Regions from separate parts of the Homo sapiens genome. Here regions 1, 2 and 4 are each linked to region 3. The links are contacts of gene promoters, found by promoter capture Hi-C in blood cells and fetal thymus (Javierre and others, 2016). All regions are on one chromosome and are shown on one strand. Each heading gives the region's core, a stretch centred on a gene start or on the middle of the fragment in contact. The rest is flanking DNA. Distances are from core to core; before and after follow the strand shown. Region 1 overlaps HNRNPC (heterogeneous nuclear ribonucleoprotein C). Region 2 overlaps LINC00641 (long intergenic non-protein coding RNA 641). Region 3 holds the start of METTL3 (methyltransferase 3, N6-adenosine-methyltransferase complex catalytic subunit). Region 4 overlaps HNRNPC (heterogeneous nuclear ribonucleoprotein C).

Evidence for each region. The method cuts DNA at HindIII sites, captures the fragments that hold promoters and counts their contacts. A CHiCAGO score of 5 or more calls a contact.
Region 1: a contact is called between a fragment that was not itself captured here and the fragment with the promoter of METTL3 in region 3, in 3 of 17 cell types (naive B cells, total B cells and monocytes). The highest score is 7.0, in naive B cells.
Region 2: a fragment that was not itself captured here is called in contact with the fragment with the promoter of METTL3 in region 3 in 2 of 17 cell types (naive B cells and neutrophils); the score reaches 5.3 in naive B cells.
Region 4: a fragment that was not itself captured here is called in contact with the fragment with the promoter of METTL3 in region 3 in 4 of 17 cell types (neutrophils, monocytes, total B cells and 1 more); the score reaches 8.0 in neutrophils.

The regions. Positions count from the first base shown.
Region 1 is chr14:21,209,095-21,216,076 of GRCh38, reverse strand. HNRNPC (heterogeneous nuclear ribonucleoprotein C) reads left to right here. Exons shown (of 9, transcript NM_004500.4): 6 at 2,960-3,117; 7 at 4,154-4,267; 8 at 4,511-4,671; 9 at 4,771-6,930. The coding sequence ends at 4,854. Among named protein-coding and RNA genes, the nearest start is that of LINC00641, 5.7 kb to the right of the region's middle. The HindIII fragment of the contact is 591 bases long and covers 1,360-1,950 here.
Region 2 is chr14:21,195,025-21,201,965 of GRCh38, reverse strand. LINC00641 (long intergenic non-protein coding RNA 641) reads left to right here. Exons shown (of 2, transcript NR_038971.1): 2 at 33-1,887. Among named protein-coding and RNA genes, the nearest start is that of LINC00641, 8.4 kb to the left of the region's middle. The HindIII fragment of the contact is 3,037 bases long and covers 3,685-6,721 here.
Region 3 is chr14:21,507,335-21,514,511 of GRCh38, reverse strand. METTL3 (methyltransferase 3, N6-adenosine-methyltransferase complex catalytic subunit) reads left to right here and starts at 3,172. Exons shown (of 11, transcript NM_019852.5): 1 at 3,172-3,388. The coding sequence starts at 3,289. RefSeq lists an enhancer at 2,890-3,129. The HindIII fragment of the contact is 13,792 bases long and covers 1-7,177 here.
Region 4 is chr14:21,237,013-21,244,538 of GRCh38, reverse strand. All of the region lies in intron 2 of HNRNPC (heterogeneous nuclear ribonucleoprotein C), which reads left to right. Among named protein-coding and RNA genes, the nearest start is that of HNRNPC, 29 kb to the left of the region's middle. The HindIII fragment of the contact is 5,548 bases long and covers 487-6,034 here.

The DNA.
Region 1 (6,982 bases), core at 406-2,905, 300 kb after region 3:
AGTGCAATGGCTGTCTGCAACCCCCACTTCCTTCCTGGGTTCAAGCAACTCTCGTGCCTCAGCCTCCTGCGTAGCTGGGATTACAGGTGTGCCACTGCATCCAGCTGGTGTGTTTTGTTGTTTTTTTTTTCTTTTTCTTTTCCTTTTCTTTCTTTCTTCCTTTCTTTTTTTTTTTTTTAAGACGGAGTCTTGCTCTGTCACTGAGGCTGGAGTACAGTGGAATGATCTCAGCTCACTGCAACCTCTGCCTTCCAGATTCAAGCAATTCTTCTGCCTCAGCCCTCCTGAGTAGCTGGAATTACAGGCGTGTGCCACCATGCCCGGCTAATTTTTGTATTTTTAGTATACACGGGGTTTCCCCATGTTGGTCAGGCTGGTCTCAACTCGTAACCTCATGATCCACCTGCCTCCGCCTCCCAAAATGTTGGGATTACAGGCATGAGCCTCCACACCTGGCTGGTGTATTTTGTCTTAATCTGTTCAGGTGATTAATGTCTCTAGAGTGTTTTAATTTCTTAATCTGACTAGATTTTATACCAACACCATCAAGTTTGATTATGGGTGCAGTTACAATTCTCCTAGGGTTTAGTCCTTGTTCCCCTGGTAAAAGATTTTAAACAGCCTAGCCTTAATCAGTAAGTAATCAGCTATTGTTGCCTCATCTATTGTATAGCTTTCTCATAGTGAGAATTTCCGCTTAATTTTTAGCTGGTGCTTGAAGTAGTCATACTGAGCTTCTTAATATATATCCCTTTTAACTTAAAGGTTGTCACACTATGTATGTTTTTTTTCTATTTTCACACTTACCGTCCTCAACATTTTTCGAGGCAAGGACTACTTCCTCAGATGTGAATGAGAGTCCATTTCTGCCTGAGCAGCATTCTGTGTAACTAAAAGCCTTAACTGGCTGAAATATTTTGAAATATTTTTCTTCAGAAAAGTAGAGAATTTGACTCCTAATTGTGTTCATGAGACTGTTACATAGATTCAAAACAAAACTGTATTACTTGCTTTATTTTGGCTGTGGTCAGACGAAATAGTAGGTTTTAAAAAGAAATTCCAGTGATAGTACAGAACTAGCTAGCTAGCTCATTGGTTTAGATACGGGTGCCGGTGAAGGTTTGTGGCTTAGGAGGTAGATTAGATATTTATTTCCATTGGACTGAGGCTTAAGCTCAGTTTAATGCTCATGGATATGGATAACTTATTTTGATTCACCTCCAGAAATTGTCGTTAAGCAATTTGTGTTTGTGCAAGTGTTACCATCTCTCACAAAGGATATGAGTTTCTGAACACTGATATTTTATAGTTTCTGTATCATTATACTTTGCAAGATTTTGGTCAAAAAGACCAAAAGCTTTATGTCAAAATGGGAAAGTAGTGATAATAAAAAGTTACTCAGTATCTTTTTCTTTGCATTAATTCCCATGAATGGATTAAACTAAGAGATTAACCATACTTAGGGGAAATGCAAACTTTTTTCTGTTTTCTTTTTTTTTGAGACAGTGTTGCTCTGTTCCGCATGAGTGCAGTGGTGCAGTCATGGTTCTCTCACCTCCTGGGCTCAACCTGTCTTTCCATCTCAGCTTTCCTTGCTCTTTTAATTTAGGAAAATGTTCCTGTCCATAGCCACTCCTGGGACAAGATTAAACATTGCTTTGTTGAAATAGTGTGGAAACACTTTTAAGTTAACAGAGGAGAGAATTAGCAATGAGATCTTGTAAATGTTTTCACTACAGGAAGATTGGAGATATTACAACTCAGAATAACTTGCCACTATTGTATATATATAAGAGGGAGAATCATGACAAAGGTGATTAATAATATTTTTAAAGTTCTTGACTATCACATTTGTTTTTTAAGAAATATTTGGAGTTAGAACAGTTGGTAGGTGTATTTTTATAGAGTACCTGGGCCTTTGCATTAAGTTAGTTGCATTTTTAAAAAGCTTGCAGAATTGAAGACCTTTTCATACGTTGCCATAGGTTCTTATATGGAAATGACAATGTGGAATGTAGAAAGTTTAGAACTGATGTCCATGTAAGAAGTATTTTGTTCTGTTTTGAATTTTCTCTTTACAAATGTAAGTGTACCAAGCCACTGCTTTGGTGTATCTTTATCAATCACTGGGATACTAAGTTTAAGACATTTGAAATTAAGATTTCTAATAGAAACAGCAATTAGTTGAGCAACCAGTGTTTATTGAGTGCTAAGTGTGTACTGGCCAGTGAATTTAGACATAGGTGAGTAGTGAACAAGATAGACAGTGGTCTCTGCCCTGTTGGAATTAAGCGTAAATTTAGTTAGAAATGATACTACCTGTTTTTATATGAGGTATTTTTTATCAGTAGTATTTATACCCAGCCAACACATTTTGCTATGATTCCCTCAGTTACATGAAATTGCCCTGATTTTATAGATCTGAAATTTTATATGGTTCAACCTTATATCACTAGTTGTAATAATTCGTGTGCTTCTGTGGGTGAAAAGAATCAGAGATTTCGCTAATGCCATATACCACTGTTTATATACCCTTTTAATTGGAACATTTTAAAGAGTATTTGACCGTATGTGAATTGTTTATTGTAATGTATATTTGAAAATAATAAGATCCAAAGGCTATTCATTATAATAAATGCCCTGTTAATACTGACACTAGTACAGAGGAATCATTTATATCCAGTGCCAAAGGCCAGCCAACCATATAATTTGATATATGTTTTATTTTCCTGAGGAAAAGTTGCTACAGTATTACAACTATTTTATGTGCCTAGGTAAAGAAATAATGGGATAAGATTTCTAAACCCCACTGTGGAGGTTTTTGCTGGCCTTCTTAATGAAATTTAATAAAAGGAAACGACTAGAGACAATATTCACTTACTATTTATCATAAGGTCTGTTGAATTGTGCTGAGTTAATGTTAGGTTTGAATGAATTCCATTTTCCTCTTATCCAATAGGATGTACAGTTACCCAGCACGTGTACCTCCTCCTCCTCCTATTGCTCGGGCTGTAGTGCCCTCGAAACGTCAGCGTGTATCAGGAAACACTTCACGAAGGGGCAAAAGTGGCTTCAATTCTAAGAGTGGACAGCGGGGATCTTCCAAGTCTGGAAAGTGTATGTATTATTTCATTTTGTGATTTTGGTATCTCTTGTGTTTTGAGATAGGGAAGCTAATGCAGTTACAATATTTTTGTGCCACATGACTTTGTGTATTCAAAATAATGGAAGAGGCTGGGTGTGTGGTGGCTCATGCCTGTAATCCCAGCACTTTGGGAGGCCCAGCGGGTGGATCAGCTGAGGTCAGGAGTTCAAGACCAGCCTGTCCAACATGGAGGAACCCCATCTCTACCGAAAATACAAAAAATTTGCCGGGGATGGTGGTGCGTGCATGTAATCCCAGCTAATTGGGAGGCTGAGGCAGGAGAATCGCTTTTACCCAGGAGGCGGAGGTTGCAGTGAGCCGAGATCATGCCATTGCACTCCAGCCTGGGTGACGAGCAAAACTCCATCTCAAGAAAAAAAAAAAAATCCAAAATAACAGAGGAGACAAGATTGTGATTGAGTGGCCAATTCTAGACTGCAACAGCTAGGTAATTTAAAAAATGTCATTTGACTTTATGTAGTTGAGGTGTGCGTTAAGTTCCTGAGATTTTTTTGTGTTATTTAAAAACTAAAATTCAGACAGTGTTCAGTATGTTGATTTTTTTTAACTTTTCTATATTGAACTCCTCCTGTAACTGGAAATATGGAAGGCAGTAAAACATTACAGAAGGTCTGATGCAGTGGTGCGTGCCTGTAGCCCCAGATGCTTAGGGGGAGGCTAAGACCCTGGGGATCTAGGCTGTAGTGGGAGGATTTCATGAGGCCAGGAGTTTAAGTTCACTGTGATCATACGTGTGAATAGTCACTGTCCTCAGGCCTGGTCAACATAGCGACAGCCCTGATCTAAAAGACATTAAAAACAATAAAAACCATTACAGAACGTGCTTTATAATAGAACCAAGGGCCTTTATTACCGAGAAATCTGTACTGGCTCTGTTTCTCCCTGGGTATCTCCTGTGAGCTCCTGATGTAGTCTGGTGGCAGTGTATTTGCTAACTCATATCTTCGGTACATTTGATTTTAATCTAGTATTTTGTTTATATTAAAGTGAAAGGAGATGACCTTCAGGCCATTAAGAAGGAGCTGACCCAGATAAAACAAAAAGTGGATTCTCTCCTGGAAAACCTGGAAAAAATTGAAAAGGAACAGAGCAAACAAGCAGGTAAATGGGTTTTCTGCTTGCCCTTGGTATACAGTTGGGTTAGTTACATAAGGCACTTGAAAGTACATGTTGGAATAGTGGAATATAAAGCAATGTAATATGAAACTTGGGGAGTGTGAATTGGGAAGGGTATTTGTGTGGGAGGATTTAGATTTGTGCTGCAGTTCTGTGATCCTTAGTGGGGATTGTCTACGTCCTGTGGACATTACTGCCCCTAGACAGACTTGTCCTTCTCATCCGCAGTAGAGATGAAGAATGATAAGTCAGAAGAGGAGCAGAGCAGCAGCTCCGTGAAGAAAGATGAGACTAATGTGAAGATGGAGTCTGAGGGGGGTGCAGATGACTCTGCTGAGGAGGGGGACCTACTGGATGATGATGATAATGAAGATCGGGGGGATGACCAGGTGAAAACCACGGGAAAGGAAAGAAAAAGGTGGTGGAGGGGGGCTCAGGGACACATGGAGTGCCTCTAACTCCATCCTGTTTGTGTCTGTTTCTCACAGCTGGAGTTGATCAAGGATGATGAAAAAGAGGCTGAGGAAGGAGAGGATGACAGAGACAGCGCCAATGGCGAGGATGACTCTTAAGCACATAGTGGGGTTTAGAAATCTTATCCCATTATTTCTTTACCTAGGCGCTTGTCTAAGATCAAATTTTTCACCAGATCCTCTCCCCTAGTATCTTCAGCACATGCTCACTGTTCTCCCCATCCTTGTCCTTCCCATGTTCATTAATTCATATTGCCCCGCGCCTAGTCCCATTTTCACTTCCTTTGACGCTCCTAGTAGTTTTGTTAAGTCTTACCCTGTAATTTTTGCTTTTAATTTTGATACCTCTTTATGACTTAACAATAAAAAGGATGTATGGTTTTTATCAACTGTCTCCAAAATAATCTCTTGTTATGCAGGGAGTACAGTTCTTTTCATTCATACATAAGTTCAGTAGTTGCTTCCCTAACTGCAAAGGCAATCTCATTTAGTTGAGTAGCTCTTGAAAGCAGCTTTGAGTTAGAAGTATGTGTGTTACACCCTCACATTAGTGTGCTGTGTGGGGCAGTTCAACACAAATGTAACAATGTATTTTTGTGAATGAGAGTTGGCATGTCAAATGCATCCTCTAGAAAAATAATTAGTGTTATAGTCTTAAGATTTGTTTTCTAAAGTTGATACTGTGGGTTATTTTTGTGAACAGCCTGATGTTTGGGACCTTTTTTCCTCAAAATAAACAAGTCCTTATTAAACCAGGAATTTGGAGAAAAAAAAAACCCTGGTTTTTTATTTTTGTATTTTATTATTGTTTACTTCAAACTTTGTTTTACAGCGTCCTCCACAAAACCTCTAGAATGCACTAGATATATTTTTCTTGGAGTCATAATCATGATGCATACCAACACAACACTACTCAAATTATATTTCATTGAGATGCATGTTGCATTGAGGAGTCAACTTGACATAGAGTGGAGACTTTTTCAAAATGGCTTTTACATCCTAATGAAAGTTTGGGAAGTATATCCTCTCTGCCTTTTCATCAGTGCTTTGTGGTCCAGCTGGCACCCTTTCTGAGGTTTGTGTTTTGTGCTAAATGGTTTTGTCCTTAAATAGGAGAGGCTCAAAAACATCAAGATTTCAGGAAAATGGCGACAGCTGCATAATGGAACCCCCCTGCTTCTATTTTGTTCTTTTAATTACTATTTATAGCCCCAGTTACCTTCTGAATTCTGAAGTGTATATACCTCCATGTTCCTGAAAACAAGAAAACTCTTACTTCCTGATATTCCATAGACTGCCTTCCCAGGTGATTGAGAACATAGAGAATGTTACACATTTATTTTACTCTAAATGATCTTTTACCCCTGTTAGCTAATCTTTGTGTTTTCCTCAACTTTATTAATTACAGTGATTGCATTTTTAGCATCCAGTTGTAAGATGAATATATTAAACAGCTACCAGTGTTGGTGATACCTCATCCTTGAAAGGCTTAGTTCATTTGTGTTTTATACTTCAGTTTTTCCAGCATAGCAGAAAATGCCGCTTATAATTTTTGTGCACACAAACCTTGGATTCCCCTGTAAAGTTGCTATTGTTTCATAGCATGCGGCACTGGCCTTTTTTCATCCTACTCATTACAGGCAAAACTCATGTCTTATTTATGAGGATTTTATAGATCATTTTCTGTAACAGGTGACAAAAGCAGAAAAGAATGAAGAGGCTGAAGTATGAACTACCCTTGGAGCCCATATACATGATATAGGCAATTTCTTTTGTATGTTAATTCAGTCAAAAATACTACCCACTTGATGTTTTCTAATCTGATGTGAGCTCATGTTACACAGACTTTTAGTAAGTAACCCGTGACTAGAAAATAAACTGGATGCTTAGGAGAGAGTGTCAGATGTATAAGATGCTAATAAAACCTGTTTAATATTATTGTTAGCTGTAAGTTTTTGGGAAATACTGAACAAATTAGTCCACAATCAAGTGTCTACTTTTCCCTTCACTGTAGGGCCTCTCCCTGCACAGAGCAGTCTGTTTAGCTGTGAACACCACAATCTGCAGATGTTCAAGTCCCTTACATAAAATGGCATAGTATTTATATGTAACCTATGCATATTCTCCTGTATATTTTAAATCATCTCTACATTAAAATACCTGATAAAATGTAAATGGTATGTAAATAGTTGTAACTTTTTTTATTTATATTTTTGTTAACTTTTTT
Region 2 (6,941 bases), core at 3,954-6,453, 310 kb after region 3:
AGTCTTGCTCTGTTGCCCAGGCTGGAGTCCAGTGGCATGGTCTTGGCTTACTGCAACCTCCGCCTCCCAGGTTCAAGTAATTCTGCCTCAGCCTCCTGAGTAGCTGGGATTACAGGCGCCTGCTACCTCGCCCGGCTTTTTTGTTGTTGTTATTTTTAGTAGAGACGGTGTTTCACCATGTTGGTCAGGCTGGTCATGAACTCGTGACCTTGTGATCCGCCCGCCTTGGCCTTCCAAAGTGCTGGGATTACAGGCGTGAGCCACTGTGCCCGGCTGTTCATCTGTTTTTCAATACCTTTAAGTTCAGTTTCCCTTACAAAGCCCACTTTTTTCTTAGTGGGAATCTCTTGTACCACTTAACACCTACATTCCTTAATTTTTAAAGTTAAAACACTTATATACTATAAAATGGACACATCTTAAGCATACAGCTTGATGAAGATTTACAAAGTAAACATGCCAGTTGAAACACCACTCTGATCAGGATGTGGAACATAACCAGCACTCCAGAAATCTCTCTGCCATCATTACCACCACTGGTTATCCTAGCCACTCTTCTGACTTGTATCACCATAGATAGGTTTTACTTGTTTTGAAGCCATCTATAAATGGAATCATGGAAGTTTGGGCTTCCCTGAGAGCAGATCTTCAGAGAAAAAAAACTTGAGTGCAGTAGTTTATTTGGCGTTTGGCTCCAGGATGCAGGAGTGGGAAAGATGGTAGAGAGACAGAAGAAAAATCAATAGAAAGGTATTACGGAGGTTGGATATATAATGCTTCCCAGAATTGTCTGACTGAACAGGAGGCTGAAATATTTATCCGCTGGCTCCTGTTTCCAATTGATTGAGGGATGCCCCCAAGGAAGTTAACTTCACTGCAATTCTGAGCTGTAATTGACTTTAATAAGCTCCAACAGCACTGAAAGACGTTTGGATTATTTTCAGTTTGGGATAATACTACTATGAACATTCCTGTACATGTCTTTTGAGAACACGCATGTGTACATTTGTGATGGGTATGTAATGGGGTGGAATTACTGGTTCATAGAATATGTGCATATTCACCTTTAGATATAGAGGCTGCCAACCATTTTTCTGAAGTGATTATACTAATTTATATTCTCACTATCTGTAAATGAACATTTCTGTTGCTCCACATCCTTGCTGGCACTTGGTATTGATTGATTTCTCTTTTAATTTTAGGCTTTTTAATACGTGTGTAGTGATATCTCACTTGCTGTTTGTTTGCTTTTTGGTAAATTTTTTATTGAAGTATAATTTACATACAGAAAATCACACAAATTGTGTACAGGTGTGATTTTTCACACCGTGAATACATGCAAAAACTAGTATGAAATTAAGAGTTGGAACATCACCAGTACTCCAGAAGCCCCATGCATGTTCTCTTCCAGTTACTATACCACTATCCCAAGGATGGTCTATTAATTCAACAGCATAGATTTATTTTGCCTGTTTTTCAACTTCAAATAAATGAAATAATATGCACTCTTGTGTCTGGCTTCTTTGACTCAACAGTATGTCTATACAACTCATCTGTATTGTTGCATGTTGTAGTTCGTTCATTCATACTGTTGTATACAGTATTGAATTGTATAAATTACTCATTCTGTTACTATGCATTTGGGCTGTTTCCAGTTTTGGCTATTATGAATAAAGCTGCTATGAACATTCTAGAATTGTCTTGTTGAACATATGTATTTCTGCTGGGTATAAAGCTTAAAAAGGAAATTACTGGAAAATAAGAGTATTGCCTCATGTTACCTACCTGCTATTTTCACTGTAATTTCATCTATTCTGGTTGATGTGTAATAGTGTCATATTAGCATTTTTTCTTTGCTTTTATAAAATAAATGTTTTTATGTTGGAATGTTAGATTTACAGAAAAGTTACAAAGACAGTACAGAGTTCCTTATATACCCTTCATCCAGTTTCCCCCTTATGTTAATATCTTAATGTTAACATGGTAACTTTGTCAAAACTAAGAAACCAACACTGACTGGCACATTACTATTAACTAAACTCCAGGTCTTATTCAGATTTCACCAGTTCGTGTGTGTGTGTGTGTATGTGTGTAGTTGTGCACTTTAACCACCACCATAATATACAGAATTGTTCCGTTGCCACAAAGGAACCCTTGTACTACCCACTTATTGTCACACCTTATCACCCATCCTTTCACCACCTTCCCTAACCCCTGGAAATCACTAATCTTCACTGTAATTTTGTCATTTCAAGAAGTTATGAATGGCATAATATATGTGATACAAACATAGCATATGTTAACTTTTTGAGAATGGGTTTCCCCTCCACAGTATGATGCTCTTGAATTCCATCCAAGTTTTATTATATGTACCGATAGTTTTTCGTTTTTTAACAGATTGCTGTGGATGTACCAGTTTGTCTGACTGCTCACTCATCTATTGTAGGACATTGGGTTGTTTCTAGTTTTGGGCTATTAAAAATAAAGCTGCTATGAACATTTGTGTATAAGTTTTTGTGCATATAAGTTTCCATTTCTCTGGGATAATTGTCCTGGAGTGTGATGGTGGATAATATGGTAAGTATATGTTTAGTTTTATAAGAAACTGCCAAACTATTTCCCAGAGTTGCTATCTCACTTTACATTCCTACCAACAATAAGAGATGCAGTTCCTCTGCATTTTTGCCAGGATATAGGATTAGCACTAGTTTTTATTTTCACTGTTCTATCAGAGATGTATTGATACTGGTTTTCATTTGTTTGCATTTCCCTAATGGCTAATGATGTTTAACATGTTTTCATGTGCTTATTTGCCATCCATATGTCATCTTTGGTGAAATGTATCTGCATGCCTCTTGCCCATTTTATAATTGGATTGTTTTTAACCATTGTGTTTTGAGAATTCTTCATATATTCTAGATTAAAGTCCTTTGCCATGTGATTTGCAAATATTTTCTCCCAGTCTATAACTCATCTTTTCATCTTAACAGAGCCTTTTGCAGAGCAAAAGTTTTTAATTTTTATGAAGTCCAGTTTTCCTTCCTTCCTTCCTTTCTTTCTTCTTTCTTCAGACAAAATCTCACTCTTGTCCCCCAGGCTGGAGTGCAATGGCACGATCTCGGCTCACTGCAACCTCCGCCTCTTGGGTTCAAGCAATTCTCTTGCCTCAGCCTCCCAAGTAGCTGGGATTACAGGCACCTGCCACCATGCCCGGCTAATTTTTGTATTTTAAGTAGAGACTGGGTTTCACCATGTTGGCCAGGCTGGTCTTGAACTCCTGACCCCAGGTGATCCACCCACCTCAGCCTCCCAAAGTGCTGGGATTACAGGCGTGAGCCACCACAACTGGCCTATTTTATTTTATTTTTTTTGAGGCGGAGTCTCACTCCATCGCCCAGGCTGGAGTGCAGTGGCACAGTCTCGGCTCACTGCAAGCTCTGCCTCCTGGATTCACACCATTCTCCTGCCTCAGCCTCCCAAGTAGCTGGGACCACAGGTGCCCGCCACCACGCCCGGCTTTTTGTGTGTGTGTGTGTGTATTTTTAGTAGAGACGGGGTTTCACTGTGTTTGCCAGGATGCTCGCTCTCCTGACTTCGTGATCCACCCGCGTCGGCCTCCCAAAGTGTGGTGATTACAGGCGTGAGCCACCGTGCCTGGCCTCCATATGAATTTTAGAATAAGCTTGTCTATTTCTAAAAATATTGACTAGGTTGTAAACAGCCCCACAGGTTCATCTTGCCCGCTGCCTAGACGGAGCCGATTTATCAAGATGGGAATTGCAATAGAGAAAGAGTAATTCACACTGGAGTTTTATTACTCATCAGTCTCCCTGAGAATTTGGGGATTGAAGTTTTTAAGGATAATTTGGTGGGTAGGGAGAAAGTGAGTCTGAGTTCAGACAGGGAGTTCTGATTGGCCAGAGATGAAATAATAGGGAGTCAAAGCTATCCATCCTCTTGTGCTGAGTCAGTTCCTGGGTAGGGGCCACAAAACCAAATGAGCCAGTTTATTGATCTGGGTGGTATCAGTTGATTCACTGAGTACAGGATTTGCAAAATATTTCAAGTACTTATCTTAGGTTTTATAATAGTGTTGTTATCCACTGGATCAACTTGGGAAGGGTCAGAATCTTGTAGCCTCTAGCTGCGTGAATCCTAAACCATAATTTCTGATCTTTTGGCTAATTTGTTGGTCCTACAAAGGCAGTCTAGTCCTCAGGCAAGAAGGGGGTTTGTTTTGGGAAAGGGCTGTTATTATGTTTGTTTCAAACTATAGACTGTACATTAAGTTCCTCCCAAACTTAGTTTGGCCTACTGTCAGGAATGAACAAGAGCAGCTTAGAGGTTAGAAGCAAGATGGAGGTTAGGTCAGATCTCTTTCACTGTCTTAGTTATAATTTCGCAATGATGGTTTCATTATAATAGGAAATATGTTAGATCTGTATATTAATTTGGGAGAATTGAACATGTTTGCCATGCTTAGTCCTCCAATCCATGAACATGGTATGTCCTTCCATTTATTTTGATCTTTGATTTATTTTATCATTGGTTTGTAGTTTTGAGCATACAGATCCTGTACAGGTTTTGTGAGATTTACACCTAAGTATTTAAGTATTTTTTTAATGATTGCAAATGATATTGTGTTTTAATTTCATCTTCTCCATGTTTATTACTGGTCTATAGAAATATAATTCATTGAGACCAGCCTGAGCAACATTGTGAAACTCCGTCTCTACAAAGAATACAAAAATTAGCCAGATGTGGTGGCACATGCCTGCAGTTCCATCTACTTGGGAGGCTGAGGTGAAAGTCTCCTTTGAGTTTGGGTTGCAGAAGTTGTAGTGAGCTGAGATCATACAACTGCACTTCAGCCTGAGCAACAAAGCAAGAACCTGTCTCAAAAAAAAAAAGAAAAGAAATATAATTCATTTTTATATGTTGATCTTGTATCCCGCAACCTTACTGAACCCTTTTACTGGTTTTACTGTTTCTTCTACCACTCTTTTTACTGGAGTACAGTGGCATGATCTCGGCTCACTGCAATCTTCGATTCCTGGGCTCAAGCGATTCACCTGCCTCAGCCTCCCAAGTAGCTGGGATTACAGGCACCCGCCACCATGCCCAGCAAATTTTTGTATTTTTAGTAGAGATGGGGTTTCACCATGTTGGCCAGGCTGGTCTCGAACTCCTGACCTCAGGTGATCCACCCACCTCAGCCTCCCAAAGTGCTGGGATTACAGGCATGAGCCACCGTGCCCAGCCTTTTTTTTTTTTTTTTTTCTTTTCTCTTTCTTTTTAAGAGATGGGGTCTCCCTACATTGCCCAGGTTGGTCTTGAACTCCTGACCTCAGGTCATCTGCCCACCTCGGCCTCCCAAAGTGCTAGGATTAGAGGCGTGAGCCACCATGTCCGGCACTGTTTGTTTTATAATAGCATCCTAATGAGTGTGAAGTGGTATCTCAATGTGGCTTTGATTTGCATTTACCTAATTATTAATGATGTTGAGCATCTTTTCATGTGCTTATTGACCATTTGTATATCTTCTTTGGTGCAATGTTTGTTAATTCAAGTTCTTTGCCCATTTCAAAATCAGGTTGTTTGTTTTAATGTTGTTGAATTGTAGCAGTTATTTATATAGTCTGGATAGCAATTTTTTATGAGATATATGACTTGCAAATATTTTTTCCCATTTTGTGGATTGCATTTTCACTCTGTGGGTAGTATTTTACAGTGTTTTTGAGGGTATCTCTTTTTATAGTTGTTTTGAGTGGTTGCTCTAGGTGTTGCCTTATACATACAAAATGGATTACAGTATACTACTATTGTTTTACCATGTCAAGTGAAATGTAGAAAATTTACCTTATTTATATACCTTACCCTCCCCATTCATAATACAATTGTATTAAATATTTCCTCTACCTATTAGAGAACCTCATTAAATAATTTTATGATTTTTGCTTCTACTGTTAGCAGTGGCAGAGATCTGAGTTACCCCAAGGTACCAGCAGCCTATCTGTATGGGTCCATGGCAAGTTCCAGAGCAGGAATGGAAGTTTATTTAAAAAGGCCTTAGAATAGGAAAGAAAGGAAGGTGCGCTTGGAATAAAAAAAAAAAGCAGGCACATGAAGTTTAATAGAGAAGGTCAAATGCCGTTTAACCATGATCCTAGGACTTTCGTAAGTTTGCCTCTTTCCCAGGATTCTTCCCATAGGGTGGGCTTTCCGCATGCCCAGTGCTTTCCTTACCCTTTGGAACCGAGCCTGTTCAGTGTGTTTAGGGAGTTATATGCATGCCCAATCTGAGGCTTTCTTCCTTTTTCTGGTGGTGCGTCCCCAGAAAATCATACTTCACCATTTTTGTCTCTTAACATCCATGACCAGGAAGTTGCTTCTCCCTGGAACCTGCATTCAATTAACAGGTGTGGACCATCAGGAAATGGCCTCTCCCTGGCCCTGCCACATTATCATTTTTAGAGAGGCAATGTGGTAACTGCCGAACCATCACCAGACATTTCTAATGGGTGCAGGGAGAGTCAGTCCTCTCCTGTGCCACTCATGCCTGACTACCTGTAATACTGCCGTCAAATGTAATCTTTTTAAAAACCAAGAAGATAATTTTTTTGTTGTTGTTAACCATGTTTTTACCCTTTCCATTGTTCTTTTCTCATTACTGCTATTTAAAGATTCCTTCTTTTATCATTTTCCATCTGTTTCGAAAGCTTCCTTCGGCCATTTTAAAGGATAGATTGGCTGGCAAAAGTTCTTAATTTTCCTTTATTTGAAAATGTCTTGGCCAGATGCAGTGGCTCACACTTGTAATCCCAGCACTTAGAGAAGCCGAGGTGAGCAGATCGCTTGAGCCCAGGAGTTCAAGACCAGCCTGGGCAACATGGTGAGACCCTGTACAAAATTAGCTGGATATGATGGCACATGCCTGTAGT
Region 3 (7,177 bases), core at 1,923-4,422:
ATTGTTGTGGCCAACACTGGAAGCAATCTACCATAGCAGATATGAGGAAAAGTTGAGAAGTGTAATGCATGCAGCACCCATCTGCTCAAAATTAGGCTTACACTCCATTTTGACTAGAAGAATTCTGCATTTTTCCCTCCTCCTCCTCCTCCTTCTCCTCTGTGTACTGCTGAGGGCTACGCGCGGACAAGAAAGCAATGTCTTTCTTTTGAGCAGCAAACTGGTCAAGAGGAGTCTAAAAAGAATCTCTCTACAAGAAGATCATGCTAAGAGGCCTTCCTGTACTTCTAAAATTTGCCCAATATGCCACTGTAATAATTTACCCAGAGTTAATGTGAAAGCAAAAACTTCTGGGAGCTGCCCTTGATTTGATTGACTTTCAGGAGTACTTGTGCTACTTCTTTGCACCACTGCCCTCCAGCAGTGAGAGTGAGGCTTGTCTCAATAAAACAAAAACAAAAAAACAAAGTTACACATCCCAATAGATAGTGTAAATTCCCTAAAAGTAAATTAAGTTCAGAAAATGAGATGGAAATGAGTATTTTCATCACTACTAAATCTCCATAGTATCTAACACATAGTAAACACTCAATACTTACTGAATGGATAAAAGTCATATTACAATACACATACATCTTTCAATAGCTCCCTTCATATTCACCCCTTCCTTTTCATTACTGTTCATAACCAGCTTTTAGTTACAGTTCTTCTCATCAGACACTTAGTTACAATGGACTAATAACCATCTTTGTCCTCTCCAAAATCTCCTTCCTCCTCACCTCAATTTATCTAGAACAGCAAATCAATTTTGAAACATTCCTATTTACAAACCCTAAGTGTTTCCTATTGTATTCTGAATAAATTGCCAAGTCTTTACTCAGGTACCATGTACCTTCTACAATCTGGCCTCAAATTTGGAAACCTAAAATTTCTCCCAATATTCCCAAATATAAATCTTTATGTTCTGGCGAACTAATCCAGATTGGCATAACACACATCACGCTTTCCTACCTCTAGTCTAGACCTTTGCCTTTATCATATTCCAGACCTGGATTTCCCTCCTATACCTTCACCTACTGAAACCTTAGTGGTCATTTTAAGCCTGAACCTTGATTCCAGCTTCTTTCCAATGCCTTCCTGGGTCATTAAACTTGGAGTCCTCCTCTTCTTTGAAATCACGTTTTTTTTTTTCCTGTTTTTTTGTTTTGTTTTGTTTTTGTTTTTTAAAAAGTCTATGCCCATGCTACCTCATGCTGTGAAGATGGTTCAGTATTAATAAACTGGCTCACAGCTCCTTGACCAGATTATAAACTCTTTGAAAACAGGAGCCATGCCAGTCAAACTATTTTTTGTATTTTTTGGACAACAGCGTATGGCATCATGTAGACATTGGATAAGTCAGTGATTCCCGAAATGTTTCCATTCAGGGAGCTCCATTAAAAAAACAAAACAAACAAACAAACAAAAGGCCAAGCCGGTGGCTCATGCCTGTAACCCCAGCACGTTGGAAAGCCAAGGCAGGCTGATGAGCTAAGGTCAGGAGTTCAAGACCAGCCTGGCCAACATGGTGAAACCCCATCTCTATTAAAAATACAAAATTAACTGGGCATGGTGGCAGGTCCCTGTAATACCTGCTACTAGGTAGGCTGAGGCAGCTAGAATCCAGGAGGTGGAGGTTGCAGTGAGCTGAGATCACACCACTGCACACCAGCCTGGGCAGTAAGAATGAAACTCTGTGTCAGGCCAGGCTCGGTGGCTCACGCCTGTAATCCCAGCACTTTGGGAGGCTGAGGCAGGGGGGCAGATCGTAGGGGCAGATCACGAGGTCAGGAGTTCGAGACCAGCCTGGCCAACATAGTGAAACCCTGTCTCTACTAAAAATAAAAAAAATTAGCCAGGTGTGGTGGCACGCGCCTGTAATCCCAGCTATTCGGGAGGCTGAGGCAGGAGAATCGCTTGAACCCAGGAGGCGGAGGTTGCAGTGAGCTGAGACCACGCCATTGCACTCCAGCCTGGGTGACAGAGTGAGTGAGACTCCATCTCAAAAAAAAAAAAAAAAGAAAATGTGTCAAAAAAAGAAAGAAAGAAAGGATTGTAGGAAAAACCACCACCACCAACCTTGTATTTAAGTTTACTACACATACAGAAAAGTGCACACCAAAATGTTCAGCTCAATTACATTTCACAAACTGAACACACTCATGCAGGTAGCTCTCATAACAAAAAACACAACGCAACCAGGACCTCAAAGCCCTCTTAGTGTCGGAACCCGATTTTAATAGATTACACGTACTTTGTAAATTTAGCCTAAGAGAGAGATCACGTATTTGAAGACCTCTCGGATTTTTCCTTCATCAGCCCTCCCCACTTCCCCACGCCTCGTCAACACAAAGAAGCATGCCCGCACCCACCACCGCCCCCTCCTCACCTCAGATTGGGGACCACCGTTGTGTTTTTTATTTTTTTGTAAATGAACGCATGGAAACAAACCAACACCACCTTCAGTGGAAAAGGTATGTTAGTACCAAACTGTCAAAAGGAACTAGTGATCCTTCATCTTAAAAATCTGTACTATGGCCGGGTGTGGTGGCTCACGCCTGTAATCCTAGCACTTTGGGAGGCCAAGGAGGGCGGATCACGAGGTGAGGAGTTCGAGACTGGCCTGGCCAACACAGTGAAACCCCGTCTCTACTAAAAATACAAAAAATCTGCCGGGCGTGGTGGCGGGCGCCTGTAATACCAGCTACTCGGGAGGCTGCGGCAGGATAATCACTTGAACCCGGGAGGTGGAGGTTGCTGTGAGCCGAGATCGCGCCATTGCACTCCAGCCAGGGCGACAGAGTGAAACTCCGTCTCAAAAAAAAAAAAAAGAAAAAAACCCCCAAAACTGTACTATATGGTGTTGCTCTCTACGAGTGCTACTTTAACACAAGTCAACTCTCAGGACTCCTCTCCGAATATTCAACATGGCCGCATGCGCGTCTATAAGCAACATGGCCGCTCTGCCAGTCACCAACATGGCAACCACAGCCTCACTGTGTCCGGAAGCATGAGAGAGCGGGTATGAGGACTATACCGGCCGCTCTGCCAACACCTAACGTGGCTCTTTATAGCTTCCAAGAAAGCGCGACACCGGAAATGACTTTTCTGTCTTGCTCAGCTCCAGGGGTCATTTTCCGGTTAGCCTTCGGGGTGTCCGCGTGAGAATTGGCTATATCCTGGAGCGAGTGCTGGGAGGTGCTAGTCCGCCGCGCCTTATTCGAGAGGTGTCAGGGCTGGGAGACTAGGATGTCGGACACGTGGAGCTCTATCCAGGCCCACAAGAAGCAGCTGGACTCTCTGCGGGAGAGGCTGCAGCGGAGGCGGAAGCAGGACTCGGGGCACTTGGGTGAGGCACTGGGCTGTTGGGGCCGAGGCTCAACCGGGGAGGACGGGCGGGATCCCTAGAGAAAAAGCTCCAGAGTCACTGCCCTTTACCAAACGGCCATTTCTATAAAGCCTCGTACATTGGTACTCCCTCTCCACCTTCAGCAGCAGACGTTCGCCCTTCTGCAAGTAGTTCGCGGTTCCTCCTCACGCTGGGCCTCGGTTCTTCCAGCTCACTTTTACCGGACGGACGCTTGAGCCCCACCCTCGTCCGCCTTGCCCACTCCTCTTCAGACTGCGAGGACGTCGCCTTTGTGAGGCTGCTCAGCCCCCTATCCCGCGAAGCAGCAAGAACCCCTTTTTGTTGCTGCTTTGGCGCTTTGTTCCCTCAGTTATAACGACTGTTTTGTAGTGGTCATTTCTTGGCAGCTGTGGGTACAGTAAGCGAGGAATGAACCTTTATATCCGCAGTGCCCAATTTAGTGGCCCGTACAGAGTGGCACTGGGTGTTTCTGAATGAGTACCCCTACCGGCATTGACTTAGCCATTTACATACCTAGCAGGAATCTGAAAACATTTGTGTTTGGTTTCCAAACTTTTTCTCTTCTCCTGTTGCCCCCGTGTCACGATCATAAAACTTGAAGGAAATTTAAAAGATTAAATTCACTGTTATCCACTCCCTACCCTCAGGACAAACTCTGAATTATTTAAGGCAAACTAGTAACAAAGCTCTGCAAAAATAGTGACTCAGTATCACCTTTGTGGTAGATTGTTCCAATATTTGTCAGTATCTTCAACTGCATCTCTAAATCTTGTCTAGATCATGTTAGGTTCATGTGCTCGTATTCTGGCCCCTAGAAATAGAAGATGCACTGGCAGGATCCTCCCACCTAATTAATTACCTTTCTTGAGTATCTACAGTGTTCATGGGTCTAATTAGACAAAAATAAGGAAGAAATTGCCCCTGTCCTCAAGAAGTTTAAAAAGCATAGGATTCAAGGGGAGACGCTTACAAAAAGTGAGGAATATGATAAGATATATGTACGAAACCAAATGAATGAATCTACAGTCTGTACAATGAAGAGAAGTAACAAGAGCTGGTGTAGGTAGTGAAGCCATCAAAACCATCATAGTGGAATTGGCACTTGAATTTGGCCTTTATGGCTATATAGGACCTAGATAATTAAAGAGGTAAGAGGGGAGGATAGTGGAGTAAGAAGTGCAAGTCATATGGTCAGGCAATAATTAGTAGTCAAGTCTCAGAGTAGTTCCTGAATTACCTAAGAGGGAGAATTTTTTTTCCCTTGCTCTAGAAACTTCATTGATTTATTTATAGATACAATTTTTTGTTTTGTTATGTTTTTTCCCCTATTCTTTGGTTTCCTGTTTTGAAACTTTTTAAAAATGTGCATAAATGATGCCAACGACTTTTTTTGCTTTTGTTTTTGAGATAGCGTCTCTCACCGTTGCCCAGGCTGGAGTGTAGCAGTCCTCCCGGCTCATCCTCCTGAGTAGCTAGGACTACAGGTGCATGCCACCATGCCTGGCTAATTTTTAACTTTTTAATAGAGATATGGTCTCATTATGTTGCCCAAATTTGTCTTGAACACCTGGCATCAAGCTGTCCTCTTGCCTAAGCCTCCCAAAGTGTTTGAATTACAGGTGAGAGCCACCATATCCAGCCTATTTAATTTTCCTGTGGAGTCTTTTCCCATTCAGCAATGGCAGTTGCAAAAGGGGACCTGAGGATCAGGTAGTTGTTTGTTTCAACAAAGTGATCTGCAAAATTATTTAGTTAGTTAGTTAGAGACAGGGTCTCCCTCTGTCACCCAGGCTGGAGTGCTGTGGCATGATCATGGCTCACTGCTGCCTTGACTTCCCGGGCTCCAGCGATCCTCCCACTTCAGCCTCTCAAGTAGCTGGGGCCACAGGCGTGTGCTACCATGCCCAGCTATTTTTTGTATTTTTGGTGGAGAAGGGGTTTCACCATGTTGCCCAGGCTGATCTCTAACTCCTGAGCTCAAGCAATCCACTCACGTTGGCCTCCCAAAGTGCTGGGATTACAGGCGTGAGCCACCATGCCTGGCCTACAAAATTAACTTTTAAAAAGCCGCTATATTGGTGTACTACATCATTGACTACTTTGTGTTCACCTTTCTGTCGTTTTTGTGACAGGCCATCCTCTATCTGTGGTGTTGTTTGTTGTTTCTTGGTTTTAATTGTTCCTCATCATACTTATTTATTTATTTTTGAGATGGAGTTTCGCTCTTGTTGCCCAGGCCAGAGTGCAATGGCGCGATCTTGGCTCACCGCAACCTCCGCCTCCCAGGTTCAAGTGATTCTCCTGCCTCAGCTTCCTGAGTAGCTGGGATTACAGGCATGTGCCACCACTCCTGGCTAATTTTGTATTTTTAGTAGAGACGGGGTTTCTCCATGTTGGTCAGGCTGGTCTCAAACTCCCAACCTCTGCTGATCTGCCCGCCTCAGTTTCCCAAAGTGCTGGGATTACAGGTGTGAGCCACTGTGCCCGGCATCATACTTCTTTATACTTTTCCATTTCTAAATTCATACTCTTTCAATGAATGATTCTAATTGCTCTTGGTCATTTTAAGTTTCATTTCATTTTTCTATGACATTAACTACATTTTGGTATTAACCAAACTTTCTGCTGTATGCAGACCTAACTACTAGAGCCTTGATACTTTGATCCAGGTCCTTGCTAAACATGTTTAATATTTTTGACAATAAGACTGTATTCTCCCTGCATGTACATATCCTTTTTTATTTTTATTTATTTTTTCTTTTTTAGATGTGAATATCTCTTGATTTGTATATTTAGCTAGTAATATAGCTAAGACCCTTTTCTGTGTGTGTGTGTGTGTAAGATAAGAATCTCGTTCTGTTACCCAGGCTGGAATTCAGTGGCGTGAACACAGCTTACTGCAGTCTCGACCTCAGGGCTCAAGTGATCCTCCTGCCTCAGCCTCCTCCTGAGTGGCTAGCACCACAGGTGTACCCTACCATGCCTGCCTACTTTTTAATTTTTATTTCTTTGTAGAAACAGGGCCTTGCCATGTTGCCCAGGCTGGTCTTGGACTCTTGGGCTCAAGCTATCCTCCCACCCTGGCCTCCCAAAGTGCTGGGATTACAGATGTAATCCCAGTCTAGTTAAGACTCTTATAAAAGTATTTTTGGGGTTGTAATTAAATGTATCTTGTCTTCTGACCGAGAGCTTGATCTGACCCATCATTTGGTACTGTGGTAATAGGTAAAGATGAAACATACAAATTAAACCAGAATGTCACTGTTCTTTCTGTGTTATTTTGATTATTTCAAAGAATGTATTTTGTTGAGCTTTAGGATTCTTAGGAAACCCTTGTGAAACACTGTATTGTAAGTTTATGAATCATGTTGTCATGTAAGATATAACTCAAGACTTGATAAAAGTTCAGATTATTCCATTCGTTTCTCACCGGAAATAAAAATTTGCCTACCACATCTGTTGCCCAGGCTGGAATGCAGTGGCGCGATCTCGGCTCACTGCAAGCTCCGACTGCCAGGTTCACGCCATTCTCCTGCCTCAGCCTCCCAAGTAGCTGGGACTAAAGGTGCCCACCACCATGCCTGGCTGATTTTTTTGTATCGTTTTTAGTAGAGACGGGGTTTCACAGTGTTAGCCAGGATGGTCTCGATCTCCTGACCTCGTGATCCGCCCATCTCGGCCTCTCAAATTGCTGGGATTACAGGTGTGAGCCACCGCGCCCGGCCACACCTTGTTTTTTACAGCATTACTGAAATCTGATAATTACCG
Region 4 (7,526 bases), core at 2,011-4,510, 270 kb after region 3:
AGATTGTGAGTTCTCTGACTTTGGCAATTCAAAAGCTCCACCATTGGTAAGTGAGAAAGGATACCTTAAATGGAATTTTTAGCATCTTTTGAGGGACCTCGGGGGAAATTAAATGACATGAATTAGTTTTTTACATCGAGATGTTTTAAGACCTTAATTTTTTATTTGTTGCATTACATCACTCATACATTGAAAGGAAACAATTTTGATTATAAAAGTGCTTTATAGAGAGAACTTGCGGGCAGGCGTGGGGGCTCACGCCTATAATCCCTGCACTTTTGGAACGTGGAGGTCGGCGGATCACCTGAGGTCAGGAGTTGGAGACCAGCTATGGTCAACATGGTGAAACCCCATCTCTACTAAAAGTACAAAAAATTATCCGGATGTGGTGGCGGGCGCCTGTAGTCCCAGCTACTCGGAAGGCAGAGGTTGCAGTGATCGAAGATCGCAACACTGCAATCCAGCCTGGGCAACAAGAGCTAAGCTTCGTCTTAAAAAAAAAAAAAACTTGGAGGAAATATGCAGATAAAAATAGTATTTACTCATTTACTTATGTCATCAGCACTCAGAGGTAACCACCATCAACATTTTTATGTTTTGTTCTCTGTCTTATGTAGCTACAGGTATATATATATGTATATTTTACTAATATGTAATTATTATAGTGTTAGAACCTCTACGTGGTAGATGTTTTCCAGTCAGTAAGTATTCTACCATGTTTTTGTTTAATGGCTGTCAAGTATCTTTTGTCACAGATTTATATAAAAGATTCAGTTCCAAGCAAACATGGAAGTACTTGAAATTGAATATCCTCAGTTGATTAATGAATACAGATATAGGGACCTACCGTCCCATTGCTTGATACCTTTTATTGAGAATTTTCATATGAGCCTACAAAACGTGTACTGGTTTAGTTAGTTAAAACAATGGAAATGCCAGTTTCTTTTCCTTCACTTCATTGCATGATCATTGTTACATAAGCAGATTTGACAGAAAAAAAGATGTAATCTTTTCTTTGGAAATTTGGTGAAGTGTGCAATCTGGTGTATATCATTTTTGAATCTGCTATATATAGCATCTTAAGAAAACTTTTGAACACAATATATACATACATAGAATAAACCATTCCTGTGTAAGCCCCACTCTTCGGATAGCAACTGCCATGTTTGTCCTCTACACTTTTCTCCTGAATGATTTCAAAGTTTGTTGACATGATACTTCAGCAAACATGATACGCACTGAAGTTAGGAGCTTCCATGTGGCTGCATCTCCTAAGAATAAAGGAAATACATGCCACCAAAATATTATCAAAAGAATAATGAACATCAATTCAGTAATTAAACAATTGATAGTAAAATTATCTAGATAAAAATGTCTCTTTTGCCCAGTCTAGTGTTCAGTCAGAATTCACACACTGCCCACCCCCCCACCTCTCCTTTTTGAGACAGTGAGGTGGCTTGATCTCCGCTCATTGCAGCCTCCACTTCTAGGGTTCAAGCAATTCTCCTGCCTCAGCCTCCCAAGTAGCTGGGACTACAGGTATGTGCCACCACACCCAGCTTATCTTTGTATTGTTAGTAGAGATGGGGTTTCACCACATTGGCCATGCCGGCACTGCTTTTTTAATCTAGAAAAAGGCCCCTAGTTTTTATTTTTTGAGGTGTCCAAACCAGTTGTATTGTGATTGCCCACAAACTTGAAATTGTCTGATTGTTTCCCCCATATATAGATTCTAGAAAGATAGCTTGGTGAGAATAATGCGTAGGTGATAATGCGTGTTTAAGTGTGTCACATCAGGAGGCATGCAATGTTAGGTTGTCCTACAACTTTCTAACTATGATCCCTTAGTTTAGGTTGAGACCTCCAGGTCTTCATTGTAAAGATACATTTTCCCCCTATGTAATTATAGAGTATCTGTTTGCAAATCCTGTACTCCACTCACCAAGTTTTACCTGGCGCTTTTAGCATACATCGACAGTACTCTCATATGTTAAATTGGTGTTAAGTCCTCACCAATGTAAATAAATTTTAAATAATGTGTCTTAACATCTTTTTGAGACGGAGTCTTGCACTGACGACCAGACAGGAGTGCAGTGGCACGATCTAGGCTCACTGCAACCTCCGCGTCTTGGGTTCAAGCGATTCTTCTAGCTCAGTCTCCAGAGTAGCTGGAATTATAGGCGCTTGACATCACGCCCAGCTAATTTTTAGTATTTTTTGTAGAGATGGGGTTTCACTATGTTGACCAGTTTGGTCTCCACCTCTTGACCTCGTGATCTTCCTGCCTTGGCCTCCCAAAGTGCTGGGATTACAGGCGTGAGCCACCTTGCCTGGCCCCACACCTTATTATTATTATATATGATTATATTTATGATCCATTTGTTTGGATTTCCTGCCATTTTTAAATTTTGTTACTCTTCCTTTTGAGAGTTGTTTTATTTCATTTGGGTTTTGACCTTTGCGTGTGCAGTTTTACACGATTTGTATTTATATTAGGATTTAGAGTGAGGTTGGTTCCAATTTTTGAAAAAGATGGCTACCTAGTAGTACCATGTATTGAATTATTCATTTTCCCACCATGATGTACAAGGTCTTAGGTATTCTTAGTTCTAATACTTAAACATAGCAGTTAACATAATGTGTTCTAAAAGTAGCCAACTTTGTTTCTTCATAGGCTGAAAATGTCTTAGTAATATCCCCAGGTATTACTGTTTTCTCAGAGATTACTCTCACAGTATTTACCTTGAGATACTGTTTTTGATTAAATGAGCTAATGATTCTTGGCAGTTCAGCAAATTAAAATGCACATATTTTTCCAGGCATTGTTGGCCTCTGAAGAGGCCAGAGGGAAGTAGTTGAAAGCAATAAGATCCATAGGAAGCAGGGTACAAAAATGGTGACCAGATAGAGAGTAATGTGGGATAGGGTAGCCGGACCTAAATAGGCAAAATAAGACTTGAAGTGTGTTCAACAACTTAGATCAAATGAAGATCATCCAAGTATGCAGAGGAATTTATAGTATCCAAAGAGTATTCAGAAACTTAAGAAATTGTGAATGACTGAAAACTTTGGAATACAGAAAATTTAGTAAACCTTTTAGAAAATTGACAACTCATTGCTGCCATCTAGTGTCACTTTTGTCTTTGAAATTCTGCAAAGAAGGGAAATTTTACATATATAGCATATTTAGTATATAGAATTGGCATTTAATTTGAATTGAATGCAGGGGCTACTTTAGGTTTTTTTGTTGTTATGGTTGTGGTTTTTTTTTTTTTTTTTTTGAGACATAGTCTTGCTCTGTTCCCAGGCTGGAGTGCAGGGGTGCAATCTCGGCTTACTACAACCTCCGCCTCCTGGGTTCAGGCAGTTCTTTGCCTCAGCCCCCCGAGTAGCTGGGATTACAGACGCCTGCCACCACCAATTTTTGTCTTTAGTAGAGACAGGGTTTCACCACGTTGGCCAGGCTGGTTTTGAACTCGTGACCTCATGATCTACCCACCTCGGCCTCCCAGAGTGCTGGGATTACAGGCGTGAGCCTTCGCACCTGGCCTAGTTGAGGTTTTAAGATACAGTAATAAAGGAAATTGTAAGGCAGGGTTTTGAATTTCCAAATCTGAGGTAATATATATTTTCCTTTGTCTCTAGTGTGAGATAATGTCTGGTAAGTGAAAGTGACAGCATGTTTAATTTTTTTCTCCTGGACCATTGGATAATGTGTTTTAAGTATAATGTGATTAACCCATGTGGAGAGGTGGCCAGGGCTTGCTGAAATAAATGCCCAGTAGAAACATCTTGTACTTTGTTTAACTTGTATACTTTTGCACTAAATAAGCCAAGATATACTGAAAACAGTTGGGTTGAACGGCACCTATCTCCTGTGACCTGAACTCTATCAAAGCTGGCATACAGTGCCCAGATAAAAAAGGAAGCTGAAGTCTTGACTCCATGTTCAAATTCATTTTGGCTCAGCTCTCAGCAAATTCCAGGGCTCTCACAACCTGTTTGTGGACCACTTGAACTTTATTTATGTAAAAAATCTTCAGATAATGCAAACTGCCGTACCTTTTCCAAGTAGAATTGAATTACTTGAGATTTAAAGTTAATGTAATGGTAATGAAGTATTTTTATAAATATATTTTCAAAATTTTAGCTAGATTGACAATCCAAGATTGGTTTCCCTCCATTAAAAGGGTGAAGAGGCATGATAGCACCTCACACTTACAATGAACAGTTGGAAATAAAATTTACAGTTTGGCTATATCCCAACTAGATAGAGTTTTTACTTATTTTTTGCTTTTAAGCTGTGGCTGGGATGGTGAGAGTGCGAGTAGAGGCAAATTTCTATATTCAGGAAATTTCTTGTCCTTCCCACTACTATTAAAATCTTGTATCGCTTTTATTGCTTCAGGATAGAGCATATGATAAAACAGACAAGCATATCAGACAAAAACACAGATTTTTGGGCATTAGAAATAACTTAGTATTCCTGGTTTTGACTTGTTTTCTAGGTAAAACAGGTCTTTTGTGATCCTTTGATTAAAAACAGGAATAAGAACCTGTAATGAAATTATAGTATATAATATACAAACGCATTTGTCCATGTGTGTAATAGAAATTTGAGTGCTAACCACTATTTTTCCGCTTTTTTTGTCCTTTTTCTCTCTTGAGACCCAGTCTCACACGGTTGCCAAGGCTGGAGTGCAGTGGCATGATCTTGGCTCGCTGCAACCTCCACCTCACGGGTTCAAGGGATTTTCCTGTGTCATCCTCCCAAGTAGCTGGGATTACAGGCATCCACCACCACACCCAGCTAGTTTTTGTATTTTTAGTAGAGACCGGGTTACACCATGTTGCCCAGGCTGGTCTCGAACTCCTGTCCTCAGGTGATTTGCTCGCCTCAGCCTCCCAAAGTGCTGGGATTACAGGTGTGAGCCACCGTGCCTGGCCTAATTTTAGGTTTTTAAAGTCTATCCTTTTCATGACAGAGCTTTTCATGACATGTTGAGTTTAAGAAAGAAATAGCACCTAAGGTTCTCATTTGTTGAGGACATTTTTTTTTTGAGGTAGAATCTCACTCTGTCACCCAGACTGGAGTGCAGTGGCGCTATCTCCGCTGACTGCACCTCTGCCTCCAAGGTTCAAGCATTTTTCCTGCCTCAGCCTCCCGAATAGCTGGGACTACAGGTGTGTGCCACCATACCCCGCTAATTATTTTCATATTTTTAGTACAGATGGTGTTTCACCATGTTAGCTAGGATACTGTCTCGTTCTGACCTCATGATCCACCTGCCTCGGCCTCCCAAAGTGCCTGGCTGGAAATGTGACTAAACTACTGCTTCACTTTTGAAGTATTTAACCTTCTGATTTACAAATAATGGAGGCTGGAATATTTGAACTGTATGTTTGTTTGTTTTTGAGACAGTGTCTCCTTCTGTTGCCTAGGCTGGAGTGCATTAGCACGATCTCGGCTCACTGCAACCTCCTCCCATGTTCAAGCGATTCTCCTGTCTCAGCCTCCCGAGTAGCTGGGACTACAGGTGCAGGCCACCACGCATGGCTGATTTTTGTATTTTTAGTAGAGATGGGGTTTCACCATGTTGGCCAGAGTGGCCTTGAACTCCTGACCTGATGTGAACTGCCTGCCTCAGTCTCCCAAAGAGCTGGGATTACAGGTGTGAGCCACTGCACCCAGCCCCAGATTTCTTAATGTTAAATCTAGTTCATGTAAATTAGTGCCATTTTATTATCTAACAGCATTATTCGACTATTACATACTAGTAAATGGTGATAGAGTAGGATCCCTGGGTTAGCTTGCATTAAAAAAAGAAAAATTCTAGACCCCTTCAACTAGAAGAGGGGAAATATGATGATGAGGGGCATTGACCTCAAAATATTTGAGTATATACAGGTGCATTAAGACTTGGACTATTATTACTAATGTGATTAACCTTTTAAAATTTCTACCAAATGGATTTTCTGTTTTAAGGAATATTTGTTTGGCTTAAATGAGTTTTTCCTACAGAAATCCCAAGCTTGTATGTACATTGTAGTGAATTTGGGAAATACAGAGAAACTGTGAAAATGATTGTAAAGATTAATCACAAGCAGAGTACCCACAGAACATTTTAAGATATTTTGATGTGTTTCTGTACTGTCCGTTCTTAAATGATTTTTATGTAGTTCATTTATGTCTCCTATGTATTGTACGTTTTCAGATACTATTTTTTTGACTCAAATTATAATTTGCACATCACTTGAAGTTGTATTTTTAAAAGACTATTATTGCTGGACATTTATTACTATTGGGTTGTTAGTTGTTAGAACTCGGTTATAAAAATTCATATAGAATATGACCAAGTAATTTAGATCTGTATGAGGCAAAAAGCAAAAGTAGACCTATTCATTCTACAAGTGGTTTTTACACCTTCCAGATGTAAAGGGAGTAACAAGGCAAGAAAATGGGATCAGGGCCGAGTGCAGTGGCTTTCACCTGTAATCCCAGCACTTTGGGAGGCCGAGGCAGGCGGATCACCTGAGGTCAGAAGTTCAAGATCACCCTGACCAACATGGAGAAACCTGGTCTTTGCTAAAAATACAAAATTAGCCGGGCCTGGTGGCGCATGCCTGTAATCCCAGCTACTGGGGAGGCTGAGGCAGGAGAATCACTTGGAACAGGGAGGCGTAGGTTGCAGTGAGCCAAGATTGCTCCATTGCACTCCATCCTTGGCAACGAGTGAAACTCCAACTCAAAAAAATTAAAAAAAAAATGTGATCAAGGAGTTTGTTTTACTTATCTAAACTATTGTACTACTATAAAAGGATGCTGGCAACCTGTTACATGAAAGAACTGAGGGACTGTTCTTAGGATTTCTAACAACAGTCTGCGTAACATGTTAAAAGTGGTGCTCGAGAAACCACACCATACTACCTAGAGAGAAATGGTATTGTTTAAGCATCAATAACACCACAAAAAGGTATTGCCACTTGTAGGACGAGGTAGTCTTGACAAAATATTGCAGATGAAGCTGAGTAAGCCTTGGTCCCAGCTGCTGCTTTCAAGAGTTACAGAAGAATATGTGGAATTGTTCTGAGAGTATCAATCCTGGAAAATACAGACTGGGAAACTACAAGTTAATACTGTGGATTCTTAAACAGATAAATTTTAACCTAATGCAATAGAAGCGGAACTTACCTACAAAAATGCTTCAAATGCATCACGTTTATTTTTCTGGGAAGACTAGAATGTCTATAGTTATACATTTAGGCATTAGAATTATTTTAAAAGTGAGAAAGTGCTAGTAAAGTCATAATGGTTGTTACCTTTTGGTGAGAGGAAGGGGGATTGGCAGTGGAATCAACCACATAGGGTTTGTTTACTTATGAGACTTTACAGGGATGCAACTGCTCTTGCACCTTCACACATTTTTATTGAAGTCCCTTGTGCTCACCCACTATTGGAGCAGGTGAAACTTCTAAGTTTTAACTGCTTTTCTAAAATTTCGTTCCTGTTGCTTTTCAATAAATAA